Linked DNA regions of Homo sapiens: regions 1, 2 and 4 are each linked to region 3. The links are contacts of gene promoters, found by promoter capture Hi-C in blood cells and fetal thymus (Javierre and others, 2016). All regions are on one chromosome and are shown on one strand. Each heading gives the region's core, a stretch centred on a gene start or on the middle of the fragment in contact. The rest is flanking DNA. Distances are from core to core; before and after follow the strand shown.

Evidence for each region. The method cuts DNA at HindIII sites, captures the fragments that hold promoters and counts their contacts. A CHiCAGO score of 5 or more calls a contact.
Region 1: a contact is called between a fragment that was not itself captured here and the fragment with the promoter of PLCL1 in region 3, in 2 of 17 cell types (megakaryocytes and M0 macrophages). The highest score is 5.3, in megakaryocytes.
Region 2: a contact is called between a fragment that was not itself captured here and the fragment with the promoter of PLCL1 in region 3, in 5 of 17 cell types (M0 macrophages, megakaryocytes, fetal thymus and 2 more). The highest score is 16.2, in M0 macrophages.
Region 4: a fragment that was not itself captured here is called in contact with the fragment with the promoter of PLCL1 in region 3 in 1 of 17 cell types (M0 macrophages); the score reaches 6.0 in M0 macrophages.

The regions. Positions count from the first base shown.
Region 1 is chr2:199,487,426-199,490,126 of GRCh38, forward strand. No RefSeq gene overlaps it. Among named protein-coding and RNA genes, the nearest start is that of SATB2-AS1, 21 kb to the left of the region's middle. The HindIII fragment of the contact is 1,286 bases long and covers 691-1,976 here.
Region 2 is chr2:199,465,088-199,467,787 of GRCh38, forward strand. It overlaps a transcript of SATB2 not described here. Among named protein-coding and RNA genes, the nearest start is that of SATB2-AS1, 1.7 kb to the right of the region's middle. The HindIII fragment of the contact is 8,458 bases long and covers 1-2,700 here.
Region 3 is chr2:197,803,012-197,805,959 of GRCh38, forward strand. It overlaps PLCL1 (phospholipase C like 1 (inactive)), which reads left to right and starts at 1,582. Exons shown (of 6, transcript NM_006226.4): 1 at 1,582-2,328. The coding sequence starts at 2,089. It overlaps LOC105373828 (a long non-coding RNA gene), which reads right to left and starts at 1,535. Exons shown (of 4, transcript XR_001739850.3): 1 at 698-1,535. RefSeq lists a silencer at 1,629-1,758. The HindIII fragment of the contact is 1,428 bases long and covers 1,175-2,602 here.
Region 4 is chr2:199,448,940-199,451,639 of GRCh38, forward strand. All of the region lies in intron 2 of SATB2 (SATB homeobox 2), which reads right to left. Among named protein-coding and RNA genes, the nearest start is that of SATB2, 7.6 kb to the right of the region's middle. The HindIII fragment of the contact is 503 bases long and covers 1,173-1,675 here.

The sequences.
Region 1 (2,701 bases), core at 84-2,583, 1.7 Mb after region 3:
TGCAGTGGCCAAGACAAGGGATAACTGCAGGATCTGGCCATTTAAGGATGACAGAGTTAGTGAATGTAATCACCTCAAGTGTTTCTTGGCTCTGAATTTAATTCAACAAGCATGTGTTGAGTACTTACCAAGTATCCTGCTAGACAGAGAAAACCCTGAAAATAGGGACCAGCTCTTCCTCATCTCCGTATGGCCAATGTCTCAACTGGTGAGTTTATACAATTTCAGCCAAAAGCAAAAGACAGTTGATGTTTTCTTTTTCTGTGCAGTTTTATTTCAGAGAAGTAAACATATGACATTTGAGAGACTTTCTCAAATGCTGAAATCCACTGGTGTACCTTTATGGCTCCCTTGGAACTCTCCTGGATGTGTGGGTGAGAACTATAGAATGAAGAACACAAGTCAACCTCCATTGTCTGGCAAAGGGAGAAACTGAAGTCACTACATCTTGGATATATCTATAAAGAGATGTTAACAATCAGGTACTTTTCATGGGGATAAGGGTAAGGAGTAGTCAGGCAATTCATATAATTTTAACAGAGTTTAGTCCACTTCACTTTTAAAGGCTCCAGGCAGAGCTCCAGGCTGCAGAAAAGGAAGACCACCAACAATCTCCAAGCAAGGGAACCTTCAGGGTTTTGTGGCCCAAATGGCCAAAGGGAATATTTGTACTCTTAGAAATGCATCTCAAGCTTTTAAGGCTTGCAAACTGCCAAACTCTGTGGATCATTTTGTAAACTACAAAATCACCAGCTTAAAAAAACAACATAATTTAGCCAGGTCAATCCATAAAGTATCCCACACAGTACTTATTACAGAGAAACCTTGAACAAAAAACTCCCTGGCCTGGGACATTTCCCAGGGAATCACAAACTTCTTTGGAAAACAGAAACGTCTGGTTGTCCCATACATGGCCCGTGTGAAGAGTGCCCAGTCAGGGATGGATGGTGTTCCAAAGGTTCCTGTGTAAGTCCATTGTTGGAAACCCTGAATGCATTTTATAAACAAATAAATTTTATAAATAAATAAATAGCTGGTCCCTATTTTCAGGGTTTTCTCTGTCTAGCAGGATACTTGGTAAGTACTCAACACGAGCTTGTTGAATTAAATTCAGAGCCAAGAAACACTTGAGGTGATTACATTCACTAATTCTGTCATCCTTCATAGAAACACTATTGTTGATTAGGCTCCCAGCCTATCCTGACAGTACTGATTAACCCAAAGTGCTGCTGAAATACAGTACTTTCATGATGAAATGTAGCAGGATGCTATGTCATTGCTAAGAATTAAGCACTAGAGGAAAACAAGTACATTAAAAAAGAGCTTGATACTCAGAATGAAAGCTGCATCAAGAGGGAGATCCTTTACATTGCCTGCCGCCTCATCCCCACAACAGGGAGCCTGTGACCCACAGCCCCTGCCCTATCAACCCACCAAATGAATTGGGTCTGTTGCCCTCTAAGTTCTCGCTGTCTTCCATGGGCTCTCTCAGAAGACTGAAGAAAGAATTTCTCCCCTAGTTTTTGCCACTGGCCACATGCAGTTCTCTCCTCAATACTGCCCCCTCCTGGGGAAGGGAGCTCCGTCCCCAAACTGTTGTCCTGGTTAAAGCTGCCTTCTTCCTAAACGAGGAGCAGAAGGCAATCCTCCTTAGAAAGACACCCAAAATAAAGAGGAGAAAAAGAAAGACCTTAAGTTATTTTTTAGGTGAATCTTTTCTCTGAATACAGTAAGGAGAAACCAAGAGGGTTGGTGTTGGTCCCTCACTTAGGGAGGAAAGCAGATTGGGGAAAGAATTAAAGAGAATTCCAACAATGAAACATTTATGAATACTAAATGTAATATTAATGAAATTGACACAATGATAAATTTTGTAGGGATTTAATAAATCTGTGTTAACTTTAGCGTTCTCTAGGTTTTATATATTGAAGGGAACAATTTTTCCAGATCTCGAACTTTTTAGCAGGCCCCAGAAAAGCTTTACTTACTTTTTTTGTTTGTTTGTTTGTTTTTATTTTGAGACAGGGTCTTGCTCTGTCACCCAGGCTGGAGTGCAGTGGTGTGCTGGCTAATTTTTAATTTTTTTGGAGAGGTGGGGTCTTGCTAGGTTGCCCAGCTTCCCAAAGAGCTTGCTCTCTCTCTCTCTCTCTCTCTCTCTCTCTCTCTCTCTCTTTCTTTCTTTCTTGAGACTGGGTCTCACTCTGTCACCCAGGCTGGAATGCAGTGACACAATTATGGCTCACTGCAGTCTTGACATTCCAGGCTCAAGTGATCCCTCCACCTCAGTTCCCCAAGTAGTTGGGACCACAGGCAGGCACCACCACACTTGGCTAATTTTTTAATTTTTTGTAGAGATGAGGTCTCCCTATGTTGCCCAGGCTGATCTCCAACTCCTGGGCTCAAGCGATTCTCCTGCCTCAGCCTCCCAAAATGCTGGTGTTACTGGCGTGAGCCACCACAACTGGCTCAGAAAAGCTTTAAAAGCTTAAAGAACTGTGCCTGTGGCCAAGTATTCCTAGCTTTCTGAGATACAGCATAATTATCAGAGGCACTGGTGGGTTTGTTTCTGGATTAATGTTAGCCTTAGGATGGATCCTGTCAAGAAATAACTTACTTTACAATTTTACAAATCTTGTTATCTGGAAGCACCGAATAAAATAGACTCGAAAACTGGCGTCTTATAGCAAAATTAAACTTTAGG
Region 2 (2,700 bases), core at 87-2,586, 1.7 Mb after region 3:
CAGTCTCTCTCTCTCTCTCTCTTTCTCATTCAGAGGCAACGTTTTCAAAAACCGGCAATTGCGTGTGCGTTTGGGGTGTGCAAGTGTGAGTGTAGATGTGTGAAAGTTATTTGTTTCAGCAGTCCTTGTCTCGAGAGCAATCATCATTGTAGCTTTGAGTGAAGAGTTTTCAAAGGTGAACTGTTGTTATTTCTGTCAACAGAAAACTGTTGACAACCATTCAAGTCTCACAATACAAGTATAATATAAGGGAGGGTGGAATATCTAAAGACTGTCCCGTTGGATATGACAGAAAGACATCTGCAGTGTTTCCCTAATAGTTTGCATTTTAATTAACTTTCATTACATTCTGACTTCCACTCAATATCCGTTGTTTTCAGTAAAGACTTCTATATGATAAAACGTTGTAATTTTTGTTCTGGTTTTCCAATCTTCTTGAAAACCAGTTCTTAATTGTAAGGAATTTTTCCACCTGGGAACCATGCCGTAATTTAAAAATATAAAAGACCTTTCATGAACAATAACTGCAAATAACCCATTTGTTAGTGTCTGCGGAGTTGCTGGCACCTATACAAAGTCTCTGAAATATAAAGGCAATCTAAGAATGTTTCTCTCCAACCATAGTGATATATACTTTTTTCGTTTTTGTTGTGTGGAAGTTAAAAACACTTTTAAAGTTACTTTTTAGAAAAGTGTTGTGCTAAAATTTACCTGAACTTAAATTCCTTATCAATGTTAGCCTAACGAAATGAAGAGTATTTCTGAATCAGATTATTGTTAGAGTCATATGCTAAATAGTAAAGGAAAAGAAATGGGAATTAAAGTTTGCAAACCAAGACCAGGGAAAAGTCGGCTCCAGAAGTTACCAGGAACCCACCCAAACCTGTGCACTCATATCTCCTGTATTTACATATTATAGACAACTTTTCCTTTCCACTTTTAGCTAGAAAAGTGGTGGGCTCCCCTTAGTTCGTCTCGTTTTATGCTGTAAGACCCAAAGTCTGCTGAGGGCTGCCCCTGCCAGGTAACTTCCGGAGACCCGGAGTTACTTGGAGACAGACCCGGCCCTTTGCACATTCCAAGTGAAGGACGTCTCGCGCATTCTTCCCAGAGCTACCACACACCTAACCTCTTCTGGACACCCAACAGCTGGGGCACTGGAGCACCTGACCCTACTCAAGATCATCCCCCAGCCCTTGCCGGCACTTAGGGACAGCAGAATCTGAGCTGTGGGTGTACATACTCCCCATTTTCTGCTTTCCCAGAGGATCACAGACAACTTTTCTTCCCATCTGCTCCCGCTGGACTCCTATGATCACCCATCATCCCCAGTTGTTGCTATCTCTGAGCTCTTGGTGACCAGCCCTTGTCCCCCAAGCTGACCAAGTTGAGAGAGTACTTGTCCTCCCAGCACTGTCTCTCAGTATCAGGAAGTTGAGATCAGTGGCAGGGAAAGATGGAAGGATTGGCAAGGAAAGTGCAGGGCCAAGTAGAGTAGCTCAGAGCCTCAGCAATGGGCACCTGTCCTCCCCCAAACAACCTGTGGTCTCTCCGGCTCCCTGCTTTTCCACCATTGGTCCCATCCTGGGCTACCAGCCTCCACTGAGCTGCTCTGGGAACTTAGGGTGTCTCACATTACTTCCCTGCTATGGCATATTTTGGTTTCAGTTGAGCTATTTTCTGAAGATGTGGATACTCCAGTTTTATTCTTTTTCTGTCTGTGTCTCAGTACTCTTTTCCTTTTTTAAGAATGTTCCCCAAGCCTGGCTTTTGCCAGACCCTGTGCCATCTCCCCAAGCTCTATTTACAAGAACAAGAAGTGATTTGTCTGTTTATAGCAGGTTTAATTAAGACAGTTATGCGCCGTGAACTCTTTGGGCCTCAATCAATGCACTTAGATTTGGAAACTCAGATAGAATCACATCTTACACGTGCGGCCCCGGCTGGCCGCCCAGGCTGAGGACAGAGCTATTGTTTTCTACATCAGCCTCACTGGAACTGGGCAAGTCCCCTGCAGAACTGGCACCCCCTGCTCCTCCCAAGAGACCTCAAGTCAGGTCTCCCGGCCAGACTCAGGCCTTTCTAATACAGGCGTGAAGGGCGGGACGCCCAGAGCCCTCTTGTTGGCCGGTGGCTAAGGAGCCAGGTGGATAACTTCTGCGGATTCGGCTTTCAGGCTGCTGGAGCTCTCCCCAGCCCGAGGCCTTAGCCCAGCGCAATCCCTTGTCCAGACCGGCCAGTTTCCGCGTGGCGAAAAAGGGGGAGGCAAGTGTGTCTTTTCCAAGGAGCTTTTATCCAACAGCCTCCCCTCCCCCCAACTCTCAGCCTTAGGTGCCGGGCTTCAGCCGAAGCGTTTTTCAAATTTGTCATCATTGGAAACCTCGGACAAGTGGAGTGTAAAATTTTGAGGGTTTCCAGGTAGGCTCTGACTTCAGGCATTCAATGAAAGGGGAAGAGGGCTGAGGGCGGGGGAGAGAGACAAGCACAGAGGGCTCCCTGTAGTCGGCAGGAATTCCCTCCCTCTGCAGCCCAGCTGCACCCACTAGCACACACTAGTCTTGCCTTCTCCCGGCTTTGGAAGAATCCCCACCACATTCTTTAGCTCTCAGAAAGGAGAGGGCAGTCAGGTCAAGGTCTTTCAGCATCCCTACCGCAATATACCCCTCCCAGCCCCCTCACCACCACCACGTTGGCCTAGGA
Region 3 (2,948 bases), core at 332-2,831:
GTCTGGGTACACTTTATTTTCTTCCTCTAGTCTGTGCGTTGTAAAGGCATACCTGTTGAAAAGGAAACTTTTGTTGGGTTACCCCTCCTGTCTTTTAAAGATGAGGGGGAAAAAGAAGCCTTTGCTGTTATGGATGCAGTTCTCAGAATCTCACTAGAGGGTGGTGTTGGTTCTAAAACCAGAGGTCACTGCTACTCTCTACAGTACATTCATTACTAGGCTGCATTTATGTTTAAAGAAAAGGCAAAGTCAAGCCTTCTCAGTATTCCCTAGTAGTTGATAAATGTCAAATCTGAAACCTCCCAAGTGCCCCTGCCAGTTCTGGCTGGTTGTAGCCCAGAGGAGACAGATAAAGTAGTGAAGAGATTATCGGAGGAGTTGGGTGGCTGATTCTAATTTTGGCTCCTGCACTAACTAGTAGACAAGACTCCCTGGGCCTTTGTCTCAACCGTAAAACAAAAATGATGTCCTAGTTGATCCCTAAATCCCCATATATCTCTAAAATTATGAGATTCAAACCAAATTGTTGGTCTAAAATGCTGAATAATTTCTCATGCTGTTAGCCAGACTAAGGAACAAGTAAAATCTCAAATTATTAAATTATTAATAAGATAAAATGTAATGTTATAAGTGAGGTTTAATATAGATTCTAATATCAAAGGAGTTTAAAATTAAAATGCCAAGTCTTTTGTCTTACCAGGGAGCCTTAGGACCATGGTTTGCATCTGAGCATTCTGTGGATAATTTCAGTGACTTAACTCATCATCCAAAGATCTCTCCCTTCTTGGTTGCTAGCTTACTGGAAATGAGCAAAATATGTTTTTATATAGGATTATATAGAGAAAGGAGGCTGAACCATTGTCAAATAGGAATGTTTTAGGATAGAGACTAAACTCCCCACCTGCATTTATCTGACTTGGATTATATCTGTGCTTTTTAAGAGTCAGTCTTCGGAGGGATTTAGTTGGTTCAGTTTCCTTTCACCCTCATCTCTTTCACTGACTCCCTTTCCTTGTTATATTTACTCACACTGCAGAATGACCTTAGAATCCTTTCCTGGAACCTGAAGCAAATTATGGAACCCCAAGATCCCAGTAAACCCTAGTTTATCTCTGCATGGACTTGACTTCTAAGAATTGGCCTGAGAGCCTGCAATTAACCTGTGACCACGCAAAGCTTCACCCCGTCACCCCAAACGCTTAGACATTCATACTCAATACCCACTTTCCTCCAAATTGCTTTGTTTGGCAGAAGAAGGTTTCTTTCTCCCCTCTCCTTCACCCAACCTGGATTTTTGTTGCATCTCAGGCTCATTTCGCAAATCTAAACTTCCTAAAATATACACGGAGCGCCTCCGGGTTTGCACACGCGCGCGCGCGGGTACACCCTGGCTCGAGTACATTAGCCCCGCTGGGCCGGCTCCCAGTTGCAGAACACATTCCATTCTTCGCGCTCGGGCACACCCCTCCGCAGTGAGGATTGGTCGGGCCGAGCCCCCTCGGCGAGGCGAGGCTCCTAAGAGGCCCAGACGCCTGCCAATCCCCAAGGGCTGTCAAAACAAGTCTCCCTCCCTGTCACAACAGAGCTGAGTGGAGGCCGCCGCCGCCGCCGCACTTCCTGGGACCGCTGCGCCGCAGTCCGCGGGCAGGTGGCGGGTGCGCCCGGCCGCAGTCGCCCGGCTCTGGCCCCTATCGGGCCGCCGGCGTCCGGGCTCCAGAGGCCGCCTGGCTGGGCGCCCGGTGCCTTTTGTCTGGCGCAGGGCCGGCGTTTGCATCACATTTCGGATACCTCCCTCTCTTTTTCGCCTCTCCTTCTGCCTCCCGCTCACATCGCCTCCCCACTCCCGCCACCGTCCCCCGCCGGACTGCTAGCCTCCTAGACCGAAGCCCGAGGACGTCTCTGCCCGAGCGATGTCCCCTCTCCAGAAAGTTGCCGCCGCCGCCGCCGCCGCCGCCACTGCCGCCGCTGGGCGGTGAAACAAAGTCTGGCGGGGCCGCCTCCCGGTGCAGGAGCGCACCGGTGCCTAGCGGCTGGACTCCGCTGCCGGGCGTCCCGCTTTCCCCCGGGGAGCCCTAAACGCTCCAGGCCATGGCCGAGGGCGCGGCCGGCAGGGAGGATCCGGCGCCGCCCGACGCGGCGGGGGGCGAAGACGACCCCCGAGTGGGCCCGGATGCCGCCGGGGACTGCGTGACGGCGGCCTCTGGGGGCCGGATGAGGGACCGTCGCAGCGGGGTCGCACTGCCAGGCGCCGCGGGGACCCCAGCGGACAGCGAGGCGGGCCTCCTGGAGGCAGCACGGGCGACCCCCCGGCGCAGCAGCATCATCAAGGTAAGCAAAGCCGCGCCGCACCGGGAGCGTGGCTGTGGGTGATGGGTGGGTCAGGGACCCGGGCAGGATGTGCGGTGTCCGGAGGCATCCGGGCTCAGCATTGTTTTCTCCCACCTCCTTCAACGCCAAACCTTCCTTCCTTATCCGGAGGTTCCCAGACTCAGCTGTCAGCCACGAGACGCACAAGTGACTTTTTCTCCCCACTGACGGCAGAGGAAAAGTTCCGCTCTGCGTCTTTGCGTTCTGATGGATGCTTTCCCTCATTTTCTCTGCAAGCTTCACTAAACCGTTGATGGAGGGAGGAAGGGAGAACTCTGGATAAATGCAGACCCACCGGATGGTTGTGCATTGCTTTCCAATGAAGGGTTAGCTTTTCCCATACAATGAAGAAAATGCACAGCTTACTCTCAAGTGTAAAAAAAGAATCCCTCTAGACTTAAATGATCCCGAAATCCCAAGATGTGTGAACTTTCCCGGTAGGGAGGCAGAGTTTTAAGTGGACCCTGCATCACAGTAAAGAGCAATGCAAGAGCCCAGAGTTTTTGCGCTGCAGAAAGCACAACCGGAAAGCAATCAATCCCCCAAGCATTATCACTGGTCCTTGTGGTTACCACCACATC
Region 4 (2,700 bases), core at 174-2,673, 1.6 Mb after region 3:
AATTGAAATATATTTCCCCAGAAGGTTTTCCTGTCCTATGTGTCATAATCATTAATAAAGAATATGCTTACTATAAAACTGACATAGTTTGCTGATAACTTTATTGCAAGTTTCAAATTCTTAAAATTTCTATTCATGCTTTTATCTGCATTTTAGGCATTTGTCAAACTAATAACCATAACATCCACTTGTTTAAGTTAAAGGACATCAATTAAAAAGGGGAAAAAAAATGCATGCCATAAACTCTATTGTCATAATTATATATCTAAAGCACACTTGTTCCATATTATGTCTTTTTATCTAGTTTTTTAAAAATCTGAAATAAGTAAAACTTTTTAATTGAGCAGCAAAGATACAGAAGTTGTAGAATGCAATTTCTGATGTAGCCTTTCAGTGCCACTTAATTATACTGATTTTACCACAATTCTTAAATCACTTGCTACTAAAAAGCAAAATAATTCTGTTAATTGAAACAAATATATATAGCTAGAGTTCCATAATTTTGAAAACTCCACCATGGAACATTTTTACAAAAACACTGTAGCATGTTATGCTTACAGGGCTTGTTTCTACATAAAAGAAGAAAAATAATGTTTGGTTAATTGCTAACAATAAAGAGCAACGGAAAATAGCATACTATAATGACTACAACTGTGCTTTTTTCAAACTCTGTAAGTCCTCAACTGGTTTTTGTTTTAGTCATACCTCAGTTCCACTCAGGGCATCTACTTTGACTTTGAAATATTTATCACATTACATTTAAGTAGTAGGATGATGAATCTTTTGTATATAAAAATCCATTTTCACCACAGACATTTTCAAAACCTCTATTGCATTTTAAAATAACAGGAATTCACAGCTCTCCTTACTGGCACCCTAAATTAATGCTGGAGAGCAGTGTTGATTGGAAGTGAAAAAAGACCATACAATCAAAGTCAGTAGAGGCAAATCATTCATTTAAAAATTGCTACAAAGAAAAGAATAGAAACTAAAAGGCAAACTCTTTTCTTCATTTTTTTGAGTTAAGCATAAAGGTCTCCTACTCGAAACCATTTTAGGTTATTTCTCTGTTTTTTCCAAAAAATAATGAGTTAAAATGTATGGGTTAGATCCAACATTTCACTGCTGTTCTTATTCTTGGGGAGTGGGGGAGACGGGGAACTTGCTGCCAAAGCTTCTGAAAAGAGACTTTGGGCTGCTAATTTTCCGTTCACAAAATCTAAATTCCCCTTATGCATTCTCACACAACTCATGAAATAATATGAAACAGTATTATATCACTGCAAATTGAGACATTTTTATCAAAATAAAGAGTGATGATGCCAACATTTCATTTGTCATTTCCCACTTGTCACTTTTCACTGACAAACTGTTACACATACAACTTTTGTCAAATGCTCCATCTTTAAATATGTTCCAAAATGCCATTGTATCTCAGTATTCATGTAAGGAAGATAGTAAAAATTACTATGTTACCATATATTAGTTATATAGGTTTTTTAAAAGCCTACTGATTAAACAATATAAAGAATTCTTTATTAATTTACATGCTATATAGGATAAAGTTTGGCTTTCTGAAATAAAACAATGTACATATTTTACACACCTAATGTGGGTTCTTAGTCATAAGAAACATTTTAATGGTGAGAAATTTTATTCCAACAGAAACCTAAAAAGCTTTAAAAGATAAGTATAACCCAAGAAAATAATACTATTTGGAATTCATCTAGCCCTGTAAATTTAACATGTCTTTTTAAATATATACACATATGCTGATTCTATAATAAATACTTTTTAAAAAGAAAGAAAAATAGGGGTTTTAAATTATAACCATCAAACTTCACTGCTTACTACTTTGTCAGATATACCAAATAATTACTGTAGTCTTTCCTGGAATAAAACTGATTTCCGTATACTTAAAATGACTCAAATTCATATTCTTAGCTATCTAATAAATGATGATTAGTCTGTTTTCCCTTCTCTACAGAGATAGATTGGTTAAAACAAAATTCAAGAAAGAAAAGAAGAATTCAAACAGGATATCTCATATGTACAGACTTTGCTGGTTACAACCCTCTGGGAAAGGATGATATTGCTTATTTTCTGCAGGGGTTAAAAAACAGATGCCTTAAGGGACATCTATGTAGTTCCAACACACACACACACACACACACACACACACACACACACACACTGCACTACAGATGATCTTGAGTATACAATGGTCAGTGGGTTTCTTCTGATGGAACATAAGGCTTCCAAAATTACTTGAAACATCAAATTATGCTCAGGACTTTGAGGGGCGGATACCCTATGTTCTGTTTAATGTGTATGTTCCACTGCATATATTTTTTTAACCAAGTATATCTTTATTTTAATAACAGGCCAAGAACTAAAAACACTTTAGAGAAGAGTTATTTTTCTACCTCAGCAAAACTACAGAGGACAGGCTAGATTGTTGGATGACCCCAAAGCCTAAGTTCATTCTATTTAAAAGATCTTAAAACCTTAAAAAAAAAAAAAAAAAGTGAGGAGGGAGAAATACAATCTTTTCTCTTTTGAAGTAATGTGTACTTCCTACAAATATTATGATATTCATCCTTGGGAATGGAGTTTTCTCCATTTTGCCCATGTTAACAATATATTTCTAAGTATTTTATAATCTCAATATATACCTATCTATACTTTCATATCTGCATT